4 separate regions of the Homo sapiens genome follow, and regions 1, 2 and 3 are each linked to region 4. The links are contacts of gene promoters, found by promoter capture Hi-C in blood cells and fetal thymus (Javierre and others, 2016). All regions are on one chromosome and are shown on one strand. The core of a region is centred on a gene start or on the middle of the fragment in contact, and the rest is flanking DNA. Distances in the headings are between cores, read along the strand shown.

The links. Contacts are between HindIII fragments. The CHiCAGO score rates a contact against its expected background, and 5 or more counts as called.
Region 1: a contact is called between a fragment that was not itself captured here and the fragment with the promoter of FAM174A in region 4, in 2 of 17 cell types (non-activated CD4 T cells and fetal thymus). The highest score is 5.1, in non-activated CD4 T cells.
Region 2: a fragment that was not itself captured here is called in contact with the fragment with the promoter of FAM174A in region 4 in 1 of 17 cell types (monocytes); the score reaches 8.6 in monocytes.
Region 3: a fragment that was not itself captured here is called in contact with the fragment with the promoter of FAM174A in region 4 in 1 of 17 cell types (non-activated CD4 T cells); the score reaches 6.8 in non-activated CD4 T cells.

Annotation. Positions count from the first base shown.
Region 1 is chr5:98,919,878-98,922,685 of GRCh38, forward strand. The region is part of intron 2 of CHD1 (chromodomain helicase DNA binding protein 1); the gene reads right to left. Among named protein-coding and RNA genes, the nearest start is that of CHD1-DT, 7.3 kb to the right of the region's middle. The HindIII fragment of the contact is 2,275 bases long and covers 132-2,406 here.
Region 2 is chr5:102,283,590-102,286,752 of GRCh38, forward strand. All of the region lies in intron 2 of SLCO4C1 (solute carrier organic anion transporter family member 4C1), which reads right to left. Among named protein-coding and RNA genes, the nearest start is that of SLCO4C1, 11 kb to the right of the region's middle. The HindIII fragment of the contact is 870 bases long and covers 1,444-2,313 here.
Region 3 is chr5:99,032,572-99,035,400 of GRCh38, forward strand. No RefSeq gene overlaps it. Among named protein-coding and RNA genes, the nearest start is that of CHD1, 100 kb to the left of the region's middle. RefSeq lists an enhancer at 853-912. The HindIII fragment of the contact is 912 bases long and covers 1,098-2,009 here.
Region 4 is chr5:100,533,750-100,536,681 of GRCh38, forward strand. FAM174A (family with sequence similarity 174 member A) reads left to right here and starts at 1,625. Exons shown (of 3, transcript NM_198507.3): 1 at 1,625-2,215. The coding sequence starts at 1,782. FAM174A-DT (FAM174A divergent transcript) reads right to left here and starts at 1,494. Exons shown (of 5, transcript NR_172939.1): 1 at 1,412-1,494; 2 at 331-403. RefSeq lists an enhancer at 1,584-1,883. The HindIII fragment of the contact is 3,135 bases long and covers 1,248-2,932 here.

The DNA of each region.
Region 1 (2,808 bases), core at 19-2,518, 1.6 Mb before region 4:
CACCCAGTACCCAAATCTTGGTTTCTAATGCCATTCTCCAAAAAAATGGAACCAAGGCTCCTTGGAGAGTGGCTGATTCTAGGGTAAAAGTAAGGCAGTGTGTAAAAGAAACATACGAGCCAACCTAAAAAAGCTTCCAAGAGCCAAGGCTAGATCAATTTAAGTAACAAAAAAGTCAACTATTATACAATAGATACATAAAATACCTATTATACATAAATATATACAAATATATATTTTATAGAGTTGTAATCCACTAAGCTGGATTACAACTCAAAGCACATACATAAATCCATACATATATAAACGATTTAGAAATTTCCTTACAGAAATTCCATTTAATATATGTAAATACTCCCCCCACCAGGAGATGGAATTTAATTCCTATCCCAACCCTCTTGAAAGTAGGCTAGACAAAATGACTTGCTTCCAAAGAATATATTATGGAAAGGGAAAAACAGTAACTTTACAGTAGAGAAACTTGCAAATACTACCTTGACCAAGTGAGAGGTTAACACCACCAGTAATGTCATGAGGATAACATGTTTCCCATATGATGTGACTAGCACACTTTATCTTTGTGGTATTCTTTCTAAAAACCAATAACCCTAGTTTATCCTAAGAACAATAGACAAGGCCAGGTGTGGTGGCTCACACACCTGTAATCCCAACACTCTGGGAGGCCAAGGTGGGTGGATTACCTGAGGTCAAGAGTTCAAGATCAGCCTGACCAACACAGAGAAACCCTGTCTCTACTAAAAATACAAAAATTAGCCAGGCATGGTGGTGCACACCTGTAGTCCCAGTCACTCGGGAGGCTGTGGCAGGAGAATCGTTTGAACCCAGGAGGCGGAGGTTGCAGTGAGGTGAGATCGTGCCATTGCACTCCAGCCTGGGCAACAGAGCAAGACGCCGTCTCAAAAAAAAAAAAAAAAAGACAAATCTAGATTTCAAAAACATTCTACAGGATACCTGGCCAGTATTTCTCAAGATGGTTTAGACCATGAAAACTAAGGAAAGACTTAGAAACTCTCACAGATGAAAGGAGACTGGGGAGACGTGACAACTAAATGCAATGTGGCACTCTGGATTTAATCCTACAACAGAAAAGAGGGAGTTAATGGAAAAATCAATGAAATCCAAGTATAGAGTTTAGGTAATAGTTTTTTAAAAAAGAATAAAAAAATAAATAAAATGGCTATAAATCTTGTTTCCCCATCTGGAAAGTGGGAATCATAACAATGTATACATCACAGAAGTTTTGTGAGGATGAACTGTGACAATTCAAGTAATGCACAATGCCCTATGTGCATCATGCTAGGTTAAGGCACAGCAAGAGCTCAACAATCATCAGTTGCCATTGTTACTGCTTCCGGAGAAACGAAACTTACCTAGCCTCTTGCTAGTCCTGCTCAAGACACAATTAATTGGAGGTTCGCAGAGAATGAAAACCATGTATAACAACATCAATAACAAAGTGGCAAGATGCTATGACTCCAGATGAATAGCTTCATATAAATGTATATGAACTTAATACATAAGAATCACTTAGAATCTTGTTAAAATGAAGATTCTGATTCAGTACGTCTGGGGCGAGGCACAAGGTTCTACAGTTATAATAAGCTCCCAAATGATGCCAACACCGCTGGTCCACGGACCACAACTGGTGCAACTTTTCTATTTCTGTAGTTTTAAATATTTCCCATTTTAAAAAAAGGTTAAACATTTTCTCCATTCATCATAAAGTAATACTCATTTTAAAACACAAAACTGCACCATATATAACCAATCAGTCATCAAGATCTTAAACAAGCAGCTACTTAAGCAGAGTAAAAGGGGTAACATCACATTAATGTTTGCCCACACATTATGACTACATACAGAAAAGTAATCTTTGAAAGGTAACTCATACACCATTCTGATCTTTAACCATATAGCCATTCCTGAAGTAAATCATCACTCAAGATAACTTATTTAAAACTAAAAAAAGTCAGCCAGGCGCAGTGGCTCATGCCTGTAATCCCAGCACTTTGGGAGGCCGAGGTGGGTGGATCACAAGGTCAGGAGTTCAAGACCACCAGCCTGGCCAACATGGTGAAATCCCATCTTTACTAAAAATACAAAAATTAGCGGGGCATGGTGGCGGGCACCTATAATCCCAGCTACTCAGGAGGCAGAGGCAGAAAACTGCCAGAACACAGGAGACGGAGGCTGCAGTGAGCCAAGATCGTGCTACTGCACTCCAGCCTGGGCAACAGTGAGACTCCATCTCAATTAAAAAAAAACAAACCACACACACACTAAAAAAAAGTCTACCAGGATTTGAAAAATTTGCTTGCAAATACCACCACAAATCCACACAGCTGCAAATTGATGCTTTGAAATCTTCCAGCATTATCTTTAAAAAGCTTAACTTCAGTTACATAAAACTTTGTGTTGAGCTGTAACTGTTATACAGGTGCATCCTGGCCCACATTTCTTAGTAACTAAATTTCAAGACTGTCAGCAATAGCATAGCAAAAGAGACATATTTTTCCTGTGTATTCTTCTTCCTTTCAGTGAATAGTTATAGAGAGATCTCCAGACAGAAAGAATAGTTAAAAATTTTTTTTTTCAGTAGAAAGCTAACTGTAACCTGCAAATGCCAAATGAATTCTTTCTTAATTCTATTCCGTTTAATAAACTTTCACAAAAGAAAAAGGAAATTTTGAAGCAAAAATACATTATAGAATTCTAGCCACTAAAAAACCAAAATTTACTTTAAAAAGCTACTTACAATGAATATCAACTTTAGAAACAAAGTATATT
Region 2 (3,163 bases), core at 629-3,128, 1.8 Mb after region 4:
AAAAAAAAAAAAAAAAGACATTGCTTAATCATTACCTTCCACACAATATATCTGGTTAGACACAACTACGCCTATGGCCACTTGAATGCCCTATCAGAGCACTTCATTTTATATATTAAGATTTTTAAAAGTCCATGAAAAGAGAATTGCTAACATTTTAACATTAAGAGCCTAATGCCTTGTCCTTCCACAGAAGACAGTAAGAGTAGGTAATGGCAGATAAAGGCAATTTGGGATTCTCTGTCCACATTTTCCATAAACTTGGGCTAAAAAAATGGAACATTAAAAGAGAATTTTCTTAGAAGCACTGAAGTGAAATCAACATCTTAGCAAGTCATTAAGACAAAAACCAAAAGTAGAATATCAAAGCATTCTGCTACTATTTCTGAATATGCTTCTCATTTTAGCTTCCTTTTCACACTGCAAATTTTTCAGATCTCAAATCTTACTCAAAAAGATTACGGAAAATAATTTTTGCCTCTAACAACATAATTTGTCCTAATTCGGTCGCCAGAAAAAAATATGATGAAGAAGAGAGAGAAAGAGAAAATTCTCTTTAAATGTTACCCTATTTTTTTAGCCCAAGTTTATGGAAAATGTGGACAGAGAATCCCAAATTGCCTTTATCTGCCATTACCTACTCTTACTGTCTTCTGTGGAAGGACAAGGCATTAGGCTCTTAATATACCTCATCAAAGGACTCCATTCATTAATATATGTGACAACTCAACAAATAGTTCTTAAGGACCTAGTCTATATCACATGCTGTTCTAGGTGCTGATCATAATAAAGTTTCTAAACTCAACAAGGGCTTTCAAATTCACATAGTTAAACCTAAAGCAGATAGAGCAGATTTTACCAAAGTGTGTTCACTGCCTCATTTACCTAGAGGAAGACAAAGTAAGGGGCGAAAGCAGGATGAAGGGGACAAGTATAACAACGGAGCCTCTTCATCAACTCTACATATCATACCCCTAACTAAAGATTCACAGAATGCATTTGCTTTATAGTGCTGCAATAAAGACAACTGCTTAGCGTTCTTCTTTTTTTTTTTTCCAAACTCATTCAACCATTGAACACATTTTTAACATATTCCTAATGCCTCTAGAAACTGTTCTCTGCAGATAGTACTTTCAGAAATGTTTGGACATGTTTTTCTCTTGCTAAAGGACATGGATTTTTTAAACCTCTACCTACCAGCAAACTATAGCTTGTAATGAGAATGAGTTTGTGCTAAAATTTCATTGACACATTTTTTTCCTACTTATTTTTCTCTGTAAGTTTCCTCTATTTCAGAAGTTTGGTCATTTGCATTTCAACAAAACTGGCTGCATTAGAGCACCTAGCATTTCATGATGATTGTGAAACTCCTATTTTAAAGGAAGACATAAAGCAATAATCTGGAAAGGAAAAGAAACCTTTCTCTCTATATCCACAGTTAGAAGCTTTACAAAGTAATCAGACACTAAAATGGACATGTATGTCCTAAATTAGACTAAGATAACCTGGGTAATTTTTTAAAAATATTGATTGAGTCCTACTCCAAACTTACTGAATCAGGATTTCCAAGAGGCAGTATTAAACAGGAATAGCAACCATCCAGGATAATTCATATATATACATACACACACACACACACACACACACACAAATATATACACACATATATACACACACACACACATATATATTTTTTTTTGTTTGTTTGTTTTTGAGACGAAGTCTCACACTGTTGCCCAGGCTGGAGTGCAGTGTCCCGATCTCAGCTCCCTGCAACCTCCGCCTCCTGGGTTCAAGTGATTCTCCTGCCTCAGCCTCCCAAGTATCTGGGATTACAGGTGCCTGCCACCATGCCCGGCTAATTTTTGTGTTTTTAGTAGGGACAGGGTTTCACCATGTTGGCCAGGCTGGTCTCAAACTCCTGGCCTCAAGTAATCCACCCACCTCAGCCTCCCAAAGTGCTGGGATTACAGGTGTGAGCCATTGAGCCTGGCTCAGGGTAATTCATATTATCTAGGAAGTATGAGAAAGACTGAAAAGCCTCTGATATAAAAAATTGTGATAGTTTTATCTAGAGCATTAACTATTGCTAAAAGGTAGCTCTAGGCCTTTTACTGTATGTATTAAATTTAAAATTGAATCATTTGTTTTATTACACCATTATAGCTTCTAATCTAAAAAAATCACCTCTTCTTATTACTCCTTTATTCATTTCAGTTACAAAGAAGTAAAATTTAAGAAAAATAAGTGACTTCCGTAAAGTAAAAAATAATATCAAAAAAGGAAAAACACTCAGAGGCCAAGCAAAATTAAAGCTTCCTGTATTGAATTTGTGCTTGAAAACCTCTAAAATTCTTTGCCCTAGGTCTTCTCAAATCTAGGCAAGCATTCCATTAAAGAAAAAAGTATTCTAAGAAAAAAAGATAAAATAGTAACCAGAAGTAAAGTCCACTTTGAGTCCTACTGTAATCATTTTCCTAGCACAGCTTTTGTAAGTAGTTACCAAGCATAACCAAAGTCCTTTGATGAAGCATTCTCTCTCAAATGCCAATAAAAAAAAAATTAGAAATTTAGTGCTACAGCTAATGTGAATTTTTATCATTTAAGGTTTCTTTGAGGGAAAGGAGATGGAAAAGAGAAACAAAGATATAGTGCAACGTAGGAAAAATTATCTAATTATTGGTCAATAAATAAAAAGAGCTTTACTAGGCTAAGTAACTACTTTTCTACAATTCCTCAGTATTTAATAATGCCTCTCTCCCAAAGTCTCAAAGAGACATAAAGATTATTTTGCATGGTAACATTAAAATAACACTCATCTAAAAGAAATTAAGATTGCTTAGATGAAAAAAATGTTACGTGGTAAAGATTTACTTATCGCATTTTAAATATTTTAAAGTCATACTACAATATGTTGTGTCATATTAATATTATGTTGAAGTAAGTCAAAATGAATGTCAAATATGACTTATTTAAAAGTGTTTTGACACTATGTTTGGGTTAACTTGTACAAAAAATTAGCCCTTAATAGCATGTATTTGTTCCTCTTAATTTTAATACTACCTCTTTTTTTAGTCCAGTAACAACCACAACTTCCCTTTGATCATCTCCATTCAAAGTTAATCACCTCTAATGCTTATGTCTTTCTAAAAGCTTCCCTTAA
Region 3 (2,829 bases), core at 304-2,803, 1.5 Mb before region 4:
CTAGGCTACAGTGAACTGCATAATTTTATGGAATCTCGTTTTTCAGGGTATCTTGTTAACCAATGGGCTGACATTCTCTTTGCAGGAGCTCCACCAAGTGGTCATCCAGCTTGTGGGCGAAAGTCAGAAAAACAAATTAGGAATCCTAAGAAAGACTGACTGATAGCCGAGTAGAGCAGTCTGAAGGTAGATAAACGTGAACCCTCCATCCATAGGGAGATTCAGATACAGGCTTCATGTTTAGACAAGACATCTGCTTTTCCTCACCATTTGTTTTTGGTAACTTTCTGGTCCTTATATGAACTATGCCTGCCCTTTGACCTCATGACCCCATATGCTTTGAGCCCTCCATTTTCTCCTAATCAATTAGTCTCCTTCTGTCTTCCCATTTTCCCTGTTCAGCTCCACACACTGGTGTCCACTACTTAAATTATGCTTTCAATATTACTTTCAACTCTTAATCCAGCCATCCTGTTTCTCTGACTCTGGAACTGAGCAGCTGAGAGTTCTTGGAGAAAAATCACACAGCCATACCAATTGATGTCACTGTATGTTGTTGCTTTCTGACCAAGGCTGAGTCCTCAGTTATGGTGAAGGTGCTTCTGATCAACTGACAGTGGGTATTCCAAACATTTACTTCCCTTACTGTCAAAACCACCAACTCTTCTTACACTCAGCAAATGATGATTCTGTCCTTTTCATTGTGAAAAGGCAAGGGCAGAAAGTGAAAACGGCACCTTCCTCTCCCTCTTACTTATTCGCTTATTTATTGGCATTTTTACTTCTCCTTCCTGTTGGAAAAGGTGCCCATCTAACTCGAGGCTCATTTCTCAACCTGTAGATTGGATTCCATCCTCTTCTGTGTACTCAATGACTTTATTATATCAATCATCGCCCTCTTTCCTGTTTTACTTCAGAAAATAAACAGAACAGTGGTTTGTCTTATTGAAAATGAAAGCAAAAGTAAAATTACCTTGGCAGTTTTGGGTCTCTAATTATAAGCCAAAGAAACAAATTGAGAACAACTTATGGAAAAAATGATATTCATTGGAAATATACTGGTATAATGCAGAACAGAAGAAAATACTAAACAGTCAAGCTTCCTGAGGGCAGAAAGTACAGGACCACTGAAATGAAACCGTGGACATGCATAATCATGTATGTTTACTAAGGTTCAACTACCTTTCCTCCTTGTGTCACCACTTAAGATTTAGCTCCTAGGAAGGAAACATTTGATTGGCCAAGCCCACCAGAAACATGTGCAGAGGAGATGCTCCTGATACCTGCACCATTGAATTCCATAAGGCACAGTTCAGGGAACTTTGCTTTGTCCTTATTTTGTTTGATTTATCGGTAGCAGTTCTCCTTCTGGAGTCCTTCTCCTTTGTTTTCTGTGGCATTATTCTTTCCTTAAAAAGAAAAAAGATAATTCTTTTTAGTCTCCATTGTAGGTTCCCTTTTTTTCTGCTTAAACAGTAAGTGTTATCTTCCTCATGGGTTCAACTTCGATCACTGTTATATTACAAACTTCCTCCTGCCAAATCTTCGTTTTGAGTTTGCGATGGAACCTACGATTGAATTTCCAATAAAATTCAGTATATCTAAAAGTGAACTTATGTATTTCAAACCTGCGCTTTACTTGAATGCCACATTTTCATAAATGGCATATCTCTTATCCAGTCACCCAATCCACTTCCCTGGGAGTCTTCCTAGGTCACTCTCACTTATACTCAATCAATCCCTAATCCCTGTGGCTTTTAATTCCTTGGTATCTCTTGTTCTCCTCTTTCCTAAACTCATAACCACTTTTTAAATTAAGGTCTTAATGACTTCTCACCTAAATTGCTACATTAGCCTCCTCAAAAGGTTTCCTTACACATCATACTCCGTTTCTTACAGAGTGATCCTTCTAAAATGCTAATCTGCTCTGCAAACTCAGATTCAGTCCTTTATCTTTCAGGATAAACTTCAAGGCTTAACCCACACATTCTGTCTTTGGCCACTTTCCAAGCTTCAGGGATGGCTACTTCCTTACTGCTATATTGTAAAACAAGCAGGTTTCCAGTTGGAGGGACTAGAATTGTTTTTTAACCTTGACTGAATGTAAGAATTTCTGGGGACATATTAAACATGCAGATTCTTGGCCTGACCCTAAACATATTAAATTGGAATCTCCAGGAGTGGGGCTTATGTCTCTACTGATTTTTTTTTTTTTTTTTGAGACAGAGTTTTGCTCTTGTTGCCCAGGCTGGAGTGCAGGGGCGTGATCTCAGCTCACTGCAACCTCCACCTCCTGGGTTCAAGTGATTCTCCTGTCTCAGCCTCCTGAGTAGCTGGGATTACAAGTGCCCGCCACCACGCCCGGCTAATTTTTTGTATTTTTAGTAGAGACAGAGTTTCATCATGTTGGCCAGGCTGGTATCAAACTCCTGACCTCAGGTGATCCACCCGCCTCGGCCTCCCAAAGTGCAAGGATTACAGGCGTGAGCCACTGTGCCTGGCAGTCTCTACTGATTTTTATGATCAAGCCAGTTTGTGAATTAATGATTGACTGTTTCTAGGCAGTCCTTTTACTTATGCTGTTTGTTCTGCAATTCCCAATCCCCTTGTCCTTCAATAGTTTAGTTAGTGTCACTTTACAGGTGACTCTCATTCTTACTTAGAGGCCTCTTCTCTGTGTTCCTGTACCGCGTAGGACTATCTCTGTCTTAGTACCCATCACATAATATTTGACTAACTTACCTATCTTATAACTGCTCTAAAAACTTATCTTTGTTTTCCCAGTACATAAAAGACAAACAGTAGGCATTTGGCAAAAATTACTTTGAT
Region 4 (2,932 bases), core at 375-2,874:
AGCAAATAAGCATTTATTTTTCACTTCTTTGGTCAAGCTGGGGTTGACTAACTTAAGCTAACCTTGGCTGCATTTGGTGCCAGGCTATAGGTTTAGTCATAGTTTACGCCAGATATCCCACAGTCTACTAGGATCAGAGGACTAGCTGGGTCATATTCTTTTCAAGGTTAGGGCCAGAACTTTCTGTGCAGAGAGGGCAGGCAAGTGAAAGGGGGAAAGGAATAATGAGAGAGGTAGGTGTGTGTATGCATGTGTGTGTGTTTCTGGCTCTCTCTCTGTATATATCTACCTGTATCTGTCTCTCTTTTAGCAATGAAAACAATAACTTACTCAAAAGACCCACGTATACCCTTGACAGGCATCTCATTGGTGAGAGGTACATCATGCGGCCACTTCTAGTTATCTGCACAAATTGAAGTTCCATATTACTGAAGTCAAACAGGCAAGGAAGACATTATTGAAGACTACTGCTGTTGGGAAAGGGGATAAAACTCTTCTAATCTCAACTCCTCTAAAAGAAAAAAAGGAGTGGAGAGTTATTAAGAGCTATTTTGGGAAGATCACCGGCCACCTGAGTTTGCTGATTGACTTTACCCAAAGGAAAAGTAAATTTTCTCCTCCATGACAGGAGGTGGTTTTACAACTTGAAGCGAGAAGCCTACAACAGTTAGGTTCCTTTCCTCTCACACAAAATAAGAGATGGCCCACTACCTTCCTTGCTGATTATATTTCAAAGGCATGATGGCTTTCCATACCCTTGAGATAGTTTTCAATTATATAACTGGCCAGAAGCTTTAAAAAATATTTACATCTGAAAAGGGAAGAGAAATAACTTACAATGGTAAAGTTTTCTAAAGTAATTTTTTTTAATATACTTTAAGTTCTAGGGTATATGTGCACAACGTGCAGGTTTGTTACATATGTATACATGTGCCATGTTGCTGTGCTGCACCCATTAACTCGTCATTTACATTAGGTATATCCCCTAATGCTATCCCTCCCCCCTACCCCACGACAGGCCCCGGTGTGTGATGTTCCCCATCCCGTGTCCAAGTGTTCTCATTGTTCAATTCCCACCTATGAGTGAGAACATGCAGTGTTTGGTTTTCTGTCCTTCTAATAGTTTGCTCAGAATGATGGTTTCCAGCTTCATCCATGTGCCTACAAAGGACATGAACTCATTACAAGCAAATGCTCTTTAGAAAGGGAGGTCAGGGACCCATAGGCAGGAAAAAAAGCCTGCTTAAAGCTTGTAATGAAGCTAAGGAAAACTAAGCCCTTCTGGCTTACAGATTAAATGTGTTATTGCAGTTTGACACCAATGAATTCAGATTATGAGTTTCCAATCTCTCAGGGTTCCTGCATGAGAGAGTTGCTGTACATTTTACACAATCTCTTTTTGTCTACTTACTTTCTTAATACGCATCCTTGACCGCTCCTCACTAACAGTGAAAAGAACAATGCTTCCAAAACGGTCACGTCCTCGCTTTTTACACAAGTGCGCGTGCGCACTGGGCGCTAGGCCTCTGACGTCACCAAGTGCATCCGCCCCTACAAGTTAGCAACCGAAGGCGTCCTTAGCAGCAGTGGCCGCTGAGATGTACGAACTTCCGGTTCTCCGGGCAGCTGCCACTGCTGTAGCTTCTGCCACCTGCCACGACCGGGCCTCTCCCTGGCGTTTGGTCACCTCTGCTTCATTCTCCACCGCGCCTATGGTCCCTCTTGGAGCCAGCGTGGCGGGCCTGGCGGCTCCCGGGTGGTGAGAGAGCGGTCCGGGAACGATGAAGGCCTCGCAGTGCTGCTGCTGTCTCAGCCACCTCTTGGCTTCCGTCCTCCTCCTGCTGTTGCTGCCTGAACTAAGCGGGCCCCTGGCAGTCCTGCTGCAGGCAGCCGAGGCCGCGCCAGGTCTTGGGCCTCCTGACCCTAGACCACGGACATTACCGCCGCTGCCACCGGGCCCTACCCCTGCCCAGCAGCCGGGCCGTGGTCTGGCTGAAGCTGCGGGGCCGCGGGGCTCCGAGGGAGGCAATGGCAGCAACCCTGTGGCCGGGCTTGAGACGGACGATCACGGAGGGAAGGCCGGGGAAGGCTCGGTGGGTGGCGGCCTTGCTGTGAGCCCCAACCCTGGCGACAAGCCCATGACCCAGCGGGCCCTGACCGTGTTGATGGTGGTGAGCGGCGCGGTGCTGGTGTACTTCGTGGTCAGGACGGTCAGGTGAGGCAAAGCCTCGGTGGGGCACCCCCGTGGGCCTGAGATACGCAGGCCGGTGATCTCCAGCAAGGCTGACTTCTGTGACCCTTTCCCCCTTCCCCAGCATCAGGGACTCCTGCTTAAGAATATGATATTGACTTTCTTAAAGGCCTGTTACCTTTGGAGCAATTTAAACCTATAACTAATTGCTGCCTTTTGTTTATAAATGAGTGCCCTACCTCCAAATCTCTTCATCTGACCTACAACCCACGTCAGCCTCAAAGGGCACCCTTTCTCTGAAGTGAGGATAATCTTTATTCCCTAGAATTTTGACTACTCTGTCTTGTAATACTTCTACCTTTCTAGTCTAAATTTTTGTATACCTAACTGGTCAAAATTTTGCCAATCAGAATGCAAACTCTTTAAAGACAGGATATCTATTTAGTAGGTTTGTGAGTCTTACAAATTATTTGTACAATGCTGCCACTTAATAGGAAATCAATATATATTTGAGTGGATTAATAGTAATATAGAGGTGCCTTATGGATATTTTATTTTTATAAAATTCAGGAGAAGAAAAGTTCTTCCTTACTATCAGTGTTTCCTAGTATTGCCCTTTAATCTGCCACCTAAGTGGCAGAGAATCACCTTCCTGAAGAGTTGACATACAGAGCCAAGACCTCACCATTAGGAGAAGCCAGCAAAGAGATAAGGTGAGGGAAAGCTGTCTAGCAGTTTATT